2 separate regions of the Homo sapiens genome follow, and region 2 is linked to region 1. Evidence: promoter capture Hi-C in human tissues and cell types (Jung and others, 2019). All regions are on one chromosome and are shown on one strand. Each heading gives the region's core, a stretch centred on a gene start or on the middle of the fragment in contact. The rest is flanking DNA. Distances are from core to core; before and after follow the strand shown. Region 1 holds the start of LANCL2 (LanC like glutathione S-transferase 2). Region 2 overlaps ZNF713 (zinc finger protein 713).

Region 1 (4,288 bases), core at 115-2,614:
ACCCGCTTCCCATTTCTGGGCACACAGACAGTACGGACAATGCTTCTTTGTCGGCGAGAGCCCAGGGACCAGATATGGCCAAGGAAATCCAGCCTCCAGGCCACTTCTGAGGAGCAGGTAGCCGGCGGAGCGCTCCGCCGCGCAGGGGCGGGAGGTGTCCGCGGGCCTCACGAGTGCACAAGCCCGCATTGCGAAGCGCCGCTCGGGCCAAGAAGGAAAGCGCACTGTCCGCGTATTTCAAAGGCGCGTTGGGGCCAGGAGGGCCGAACTGCTGGAACGTGGTTCATGCAGCTGAAGCCCACGGACCCTAAGCGCGGCTCATCGGGAAGGCCCGGAGACAGGTGCTAGGCGCTATCATCCCGCGCCCTCCCAAGCCCGGCGCGCGCCTGTGACGTCACGCCTGGCGGAAGGTGGACGCTACCACCGCCGCGCTCCCCCTCCGGCGCCTCTGCGGCCAGGCCGCCGACTCACCTTCCCGTCCTGATGAAAAGGGAGGCCGGGCTCATCCGTGGTCGCCGGGGGACGAACACAGCCTGTCTCTTCGGCCGCTCCGGAGGCGAGCAGCGCCCCGGCGGCGGCCTCGTAGTCCGGGAAGGGGTTGACGAACGCCCGTTCCTCCATTTCTGCCTCCCCTCCCAGGTGGAGCTTCAGCCTCTTTGACATGGTCTCGCCCATCTCCGCCGCGGTACGGCGCGCGGGCGGGGACAAACCTCCTGTCCCGGCGCTGCAGCTCGCCCCGCCGCCGCCTCCTCCGAGGGCCCGCGCAGAGAGCGTCCTCTAGGAGGAGCGAGGCCGCGCGCTGGCGGGAGGAGCGGGGCGTCTGAGCGTGCACTGCCTCGTCGCGGGCTGCTCGCACATCAGGCGGCCGCAGAGGCGGTGGGCGCTGTGCCTCTGCCCTGTTCCTGGCGCCTTTGCCCTGCTCCCGACGGAGAGGAGCGGGCTCGCGGGAGCGCCCAGCGGCTCACAGCCTGCTCGCGCCTCCTCGCACCTTCCCCGTGGCCCGCAGAGCCCGTCCGCGGCGACGCGCACGGCCGGGGCTGGAGTCCCGGGGTGGGGATCGCTGCGCCCGGCCAGCCCCCTCCGCGATTTCCAAAGAAAACCGAACGCCCGCTAGGGCCACGCTCCCGCGGGGAAAACCTGTAGAGAAGAGGTCGCTGTCACTCAAGGTGTGTGCGCGTCGCCGACCGGGGCGAGCTCAGCCCCTGGCGCGCCGTCGTCAGCCTGCATTTCACCGGCCCCTGCTGCGCCAGCCCAAAGGAATAGCAGCAGTTCTTTGTTTGATATTAAGAAGAAAAAAAAAATCTCTTCTAAAGAACAGAATTTCAAAACAGTCTAAAACACTGCAAGGCTAGTCTCCGAGGGATGGGGGAGGGAGACAGTCCCTCCTATTCATCACTGTTGGAGGGGGGTGTCTGGGAGGAGGAGCCACAGGCCTTTTTTTTTTTCTTTTTATGTTTTATGTTCACTCCCTTTGTTTTGAATAAATGGACATCTTTGATACCGGGACATAAAATGAAAGCATACTTAATTATCCAAACATTTTATCGACCAGAAAGAGTCCTCCAGTGTTAATTGGCAAAGATCATAGTATGTATTATAAAAAGGACACAAGCAACCAGATCTTTACATTTATGTAATCGTGATGTGGTTTACTTCAGTCTTCATTGGTTCTCTTTATTTTTATTTGTTTGGACCAAATACGTGTAATGATTTCTGCTCCTTGAGGAAAATGTCTTATTTCCGTTTTCTTCCGCTCAGTAAACGTTGATTGAGCACCAAATGGTACTAGGTGATGAAGAAATAAGAGATTAAAAAGATAGTTTTGGCTCTCTGGGGATTCCCAGTTATTGGGTGAGAAAAGCAAGGATTACAGCATAGCTGATGTAGGTGCTTTTCTGGAAGCAAGCAAAAATACACGTTAATGTAAAAAGTGACATGATGAAGAAAAACACAGTGCCGAGCACAGGGAAGGCTCGGTTCCTCCTGCCTCCGTGGCCTCGGTGGAATGATGTGGGAAAGTCTGGCTTCCCACTACCTCTTCTAGTGTCCCCCCAACCCCACAGGGCTGGACATGTGAAACACACCCCACCAAGAACATGACCATGGGAAGGTACAGTGTAGAAGAAAATCATTTTAAAGGGGGTACTCAGCATAACTATCTTCAAAGTTCAGGGAAACAGAACAGATACAACAGGATGAGTGTTATAGCAGCATCCCTTAGCTCCACTTTCCTGCTTTCCCCTTTCCTGGGGTCTTTTCTCCCACCAAATTTTCATACCTAGACGGTGTAGGAAAATCCACTCCAGGAACTACTGATGCCGACATGCTCTAGGAGCCATCCTTATCCCACCACAGGGACTTAACTAGACAAAATAACCCACGGTGATATTCCCCAAAGTCTGGGGAACTATCACGCCTTGGACAGGTACAGCAGAAACGTCCACTGCGGGCTTTGTTAGGCTAAGCCTAGTGAATTCTCAGCTCTCCCTACCCAGGAGGGAGGTGAAGATTGTCTCTTCTTCCTGCAGTCTGCTGGTGGATAACTGGCAACTGTTGGCAAGTACAGAAACCTGTCCTAAAGAAAACCAATATTTTCAAAAGCTGAAAAATCGAAACCCAATTTAAGGAGTCGGCATATTTTCCTAAATGCTCTCTTATCGGCAGATCCCCTGCCCTCCTGGACAGCTCACTGACACTATTTTATGGAGAAGTGGTAGGTTCCCTTTCTTCAGCCTCCTGTCCCCTGGGGGTTTTTTAATGCAGAGCACAGGGGATTCCCTTCTGCGGCCCTTTTACACCCAGGGCTATCTTCCCCCGTGGCCACTCTTGAGCTCTTGAGTAGTACAGAGACCTTGGTCAGTGCCTTGAAATTACAACTTTATTTTCCTTAGGACAAGCCAAATTCTTAGGACACCCTCCCCACTCTTCTGTGTAAGAGAAGGGCAAGAGGACATACATGCCGGCCCAAAGCACACCCAAGGAGTCGTGAGGGCCCCTGGCAACTGACCTTTCAAAGGAAGACATAGTCCAAGGACACGATGTGCGAGAGGGCGGCATTGTGGCACCACGTTGAGATCTGGGGGGGCACTGGGCGGAGCAGCACCTGGGGAAGCCGCCGGGTGCGGTGCTTGGGTCACGGCCCTCCGGGGAGGCCACCGGGTGCGGTGCGGGGCAGGGCCCTACGGGGTGGCCGGCGGGTGCAGAAGTTGCTACCAGGGGAGGGTGTGCTCATCCTTGAAGATCTGAGTCAAAATAGGCAGTGTCATCCTCTTCCATTCCCCAGCACCTAACGTGGCTGCCCCAAAAGCCGCTGAGCTTGAGCTCCCTTCTAAAGCCAAAGCAGGCAGCAAGGCGGAGAGGAACCCCGGAGGTGGGAGGTCACTGGGGGGCGGGGAGGGTGGTTTCGGGGCACAGGGCAGCGGTGACTGCCCGCAGGGGCAAGCCCGGGCTCCCCGCCTGCGGCGGCTCCCCACCAAGTGGGGCCTGAGACAGGAGGAGCTGAGGTGGGGGCGCCTCCCTGAGAAACGCCACTTCTTATCTGGAGCGCCCCAAAGGTGAGAGGAAGACGATGGAAAACCTGGGGCACGAGGGCTCTCACTGTGGGGTTCAGCCATCGCCGAGCCCTGAGGCCCCGCAGACAGCCCCGGCTCTCCTCTTTACCCCAGAGTCAGGTACCAGCCTCTGGCCCGGGAACCAAGCCTCAGGTGCTTGCAGGGCTAGAATGTGTGGTTCTGAGAACTGCGTGGTGCTGGGTCAGAACCACGTGGGGCCTGTATTATGTATTTCAAAACTTCACGCTTCCCTGCAGCCTCAACACGGAAAACAGGCAGTGAGCCCCCCTCTCCCCCACCCCGCCCAGGTGACCAGATGCCCCAGTGTGGTGAGCTGGCCCTGCCACAGTTCCCCTTCCTGCCCTCCCGGACTGTGACCTAGTGACAGAGATTCTTTGTTCTACCAAACTAGTCAGGTTCCTGAATCTCCTCCAAGGCCCATCTGCACACTTCCTTATAAAATCCAGTTTTAGCAAACAGCCTTGCTAAGTCACTTTAGGAAGAACCACCCCCTAATATGTGATCACCCCCATTATTTGACCAGGTTCCCTATCCCTCACTATCCCCTAGGTGATGTTGGATCAACCTGGCCTGTGTTCAGCAAGAAGCCTATTAGGTAAGATTAGTCAGTACCCACCTTCCCCTTCATGTTATCTCTTAGTAATTTTCCATCCAGTCACCCCCACCTTGCTTCTTGGCTATCCATTTCCACTTGTATTGGGAATTAAGCTCAATCT
Region 2 (4,067 bases), core at 1,219-3,718, 580 kb before region 1:
CCGGGCGTGGTGACAGGCGCCTGTAATCCCAGCTAATCAGGAGGCTGAGGCAGGGGAATAGCTTGAACCCAGGAGGCGGAGATTGCAATGAGCCAAGATAGTGCCATTGCATTCCAGCTCAGGCAACAGTGCGAGACTCCGTCTCAAAAAACAAACAAACAAAAAAGTACATACCTCTGCTGAGACGTCACCTTCGCTCACTCTCTCCCCTCCTGAAATCTGAGTGCCCTATATCCTGCCTCATTATGGCAAATGAATGTTAAATGTGGCTTTTTTTGGGTGAGGATGCTTCCAGAATTGATTTGCCCTGAAAATGCATCGCCACTGCACACGTTTGGACAAAATACTATTAGAAATCCTCCCTGATTACAGTAACTCAAGGTTTTATTAACTATTTCATACCTACTGTTGCATGGGACAAAAATGCTTTTGAAAAGTTTAATTTCTACAATGAAATGAGTTTTTTTGGGGGGGTTTTATTGTTTTTGTTTTTTAAAGTCCTTAAATCATTTCAGCTTTGACTCAGGGCCTACAAAATCTAGTCCTTTCTCGGGGAGAATAAATCAGGGAAGTCTTGAGCCAGGCTCAAGTTAGAAGAAAGATGAGAAAGCAAGTGGGCTGCACTCCTACCTTAACCTTATGTTTTCTTCAGCCATGCCTGAGAAGACAGAGGAAACCTGAAAACCAAGAAACTGAAGTGTCCCTATGCTTGCAGCTATTCCTGGTTTATGACCGTTTACATTTTGAATGCTTTAAAACATCAAATGTGGGGCCGGGCACGGTGGCTCACACCTGTAATCTCAACTCTTTGGGAGGCTGAGGCGGGTGGATCACCTGAGGTTAGGTGTTCGAGACCAGCCTGACCAATAGAGTGAAACACTGTCTCTATTATAAATACAAAAATTAGCCAGGCGTGGTGGCGCGCACCTGTAATCCCAGATACTCGGGAGACTGAGACAGGAGAATTGCTTGAACCTGGGAGGCGGAGGTTGCAGTAAGCCAAGATCAAGCCACTGCACCTCAGCCTGGGTGACAGAGCGAGACTCTGTCTCAAAAAAACAAACAAAAAACAGAAAAAAACATCAAATGTGACTTCTGTCAAACAAGGCAGCAATCATAAAAATCAAATGAAATCACCTTAAATTCTGATATATTATACTTTGGATATTTGTCTCTTCCAATCTCAGGTTGAAATGTGATCCCCAATGTTGGAGGTGGGGCCTGGTGGGAGGTGTTTGGGCCATGGGGGTGGATCCCTCATGAATGGCTTGGTGTCCTCCTGTGTTATTGAATGAGTTCTTGTAGGGAAAAGAAAGAGAGATCAGACTGTTACTGTGTCTATGTAGAAAGGGAAGACATAAGAGACTCCATTTTGAAAAAGACCTGTACTTTGAATAATTGCTTTGCTGAGATGTTGTTAATTTGTAGCTTTGCCCCAGCCACTTTGACCCAACCACTTTGATCCAATCTGGAGCTCACAAAAACGTGTTGTATGAAATCAAGGTTTAAGGGATCTAGTGCTGTGCAGGACGTGCTTTGTTAACAAAATGTTTACAAGCAGTATACTTGGTAAAAGTCATTGCCATTCTCTAGTCTCAATAAACCAGGGGTACAATGCACTGCAGAAAGCCACAGGGACCTCTGCCCTTGAAAGCGGGGTATTGTCCAAGGTTTCTCCCCATGTGATAGTCTGAAATACGGCCTCGTGGGATGAGAAAGACCTGACCGTCCCCCAGCCCGACACCCGTAAAGGGTCTGTGCTGAGGTGAATTAGTAAAAGAGGGAGCCTCTTGCAGCTGAGATAGAGGAAGGCCACTGTCTCCTGCCTGCCCCTGGGAACTGAATGTCTCGGTATAAAACCGGATTGTACATTTGTTCAATTCTGAGATAGGAGAAAAACCGCCCGATGGTGGGAGGCGAGACATGTTTGCAGCAATGCTGCCTTGTTATTCTTTACACCACTGTGATGTTTCGGTGGAGAGAAACAAATCTGGCTTACGTGCACGTCCAGTCATAGTACCTTCCCTTGAACTTAATTATGACATAGATTCTATTGCTCACATGTTTTTCTCCTTATTATCACCATGCCCTCCTACATTCCTTTTTGCTGCAATAATGAAGATAATAATCAATAAAAACTGAGGGAACTCAGAGACTAGTGCCGGTGCAGATCCTTGGTATGCTGAGCGCCGGTCCCCTGGACCCACTGTTGTTTCTCTATACTTTGTCTCTGTGTCTTCTTTCCTTTCTCAGTCTCTCATCTCACCTGACTAGAAATACTCACGGGTGTGGAGGGGAAGGCCACCCCTTCAAGTTCTCACTCTGGTAGTTCATGTGAGAGCTGAGTGTTTAAGAGGTTGCAACCTCCCCCATCTCTCTTGACCCCTCTATTGTCATGTAATATGCTGGCTCCCATTGACCTTCCGCCATAATTGGAAGCGTTCTGAGGCCATCAACAGAAGCAGACACCAGCACCGTATTTCCTGCACAGCCTGCAGAACTGTGAGCCAAATAAAGCTTCTTTTCTTTATAAACTACCCAGTTTCAGGTATTCCTTTATAGCAATGCAAACAAACTAATATGAATTCTTTTTGGAAAAAAGTGTTACAGATATATATTTCTTTTTTCTTTCTCTCTTTTTTTTTTTTTTTTTTTGAGATGGAGTCTCGCTCTATTGCCCAGGCTGGAGTGCAGTGGTGCAGTCTCGGCTCACTGCAACCTCCGCCTCCCAGGTTCAAGCAATTCTTCTGCCTCAGCCTCCTGAGTAGCTGGGGTTACAGGTGCACACCATCATGCCCAGCTAATTTTTGTATTTTTAGTAGAGACGCAGTTTTACCATATTGGCCAGGCTGGTCTTGAACTCCTAACCTCAAGTGATCCACCTGCCTTGCCCTCCCAAAGTGCTGGGATTACAGATGTGAGCCACCGTGCCCAGCCCAGATATATATTTCAATAAATAAAATAAATGATTAAGCCAATTAGACTACTTCGTCAGGTGTTTATATAAGCCACTGCAGCTCTCCTGATTCCCACCCTCAACATGGCACCAGGGCTCACCCGCAGGTACAGTTCCTCACTTCTCCATCTTCCACAGTGATACGGGGTGGCATGGGAATTCTTAGTCTCTGGTCATTATTTTACAAAATCCCAAAACTTCTGTTCTACAAATACAGCAGAAATAATTTTAACTGAAAAAAAATCTAGACTTGCCACAGGGAAATTTAAAGCTAAAACAAAATAGAAAAGCAGACTTCTCTGAATCAATATTTCAAAGTTCATCAATAGGACCCTCAAGTCTTCTTCAAGGCTCTTCTCAAAGTGATCCTAGGATTCATTTGATGAAAATAATGTCAAGATTGCAAAAAGAATCATCACAGGATATTGCCACAAACTATCACACTGTTTCTCAAACAACGGCACACAAGATTTTTGGGGGGACATCAACGAATATTTTTAATTTCAAGGTTATGTATCTATTTTGATGAAGAGTAGAATAAATTTAATTAGCATATAAAACTAGCATATAACTTATTTTATATGCTAAATAGTATTTCCTAGGAGAAGGCTAAAAATCTTGCATCCCTTTATAAAGAATATTAAGTAAATACTAGATATGGTAAAAACTGTAAAGAAAGCATACAAATAACTGACGTTCGTGAAATATTCCTCTTTTATGTTTATTTCAAGTTAATGTGACTGGCTGCACTACAGCATCGCCTTTATTTTTAAATTTTACTTTTTTTTTTTTTTGAGACAGTCTCACTCTGTTGCCCAGGCTGGAGTACAGTGGCGTGATCTTGGCTCACTGCAACCTCCACCTACCGGGTTCAAGCAATTCTTCTGCCTCAGCCTCCCAAGCTGCTGAGACTACAGGCGTGCACCACCATACCCAGCTAATTTTTGTATTTTTAGTAGAGATGGGGTTTTACCATGTTGGCCAGGCTGGTCTCAAACTCCTGGCCTCAGATGATCACCCCACCTCGGCCTCCCAAAGTGCTGGGATTATAGGCGTGAACCACCGCCCCCAGCCAGCATTGTCTTTAATTAATCAAAATTTCTGATTTAAA

Evidence for each region. The method cuts DNA at HindIII sites, captures the fragments that hold promoters and counts their contacts. A contact is called where the count stands out against the background at its distance.
Region 2: a fragment that was not itself captured here is called in contact with the fragment with the promoter of LANCL2 in region 1 in 1 of the 25 tissues and cell types used here (dorsolateral prefrontal cortex).

Annotation. Positions count from the first base shown.
Region 1 is chr7:55,362,413-55,366,700 of GRCh38, reverse strand. LANCL2 (LanC like glutathione S-transferase 2) reads right to left here and starts at 1,364. Exons shown (of 9, transcript NM_018697.4): 1 at 472-1,364. The coding sequence starts at 675. RefSeq lists enhancers at 1-139, 170-629, 1,250-1,439 and a silencer at 760-1,179. The HindIII fragment of the contact is 20,479 bases long and covers 1-4,288 here.
Region 2 is chr7:55,941,137-55,945,203 of GRCh38, reverse strand. ZNF713 (zinc finger protein 713) reads right to left here. Exons shown (of 7, transcript NM_182633.3): 7 at 2,979-4,067. Among named protein-coding and RNA genes, the nearest start is that of MRPS17, 8.7 kb to the left of the region's middle. The HindIII fragment of the contact is 5,643 bases long and covers 1-4,067 here.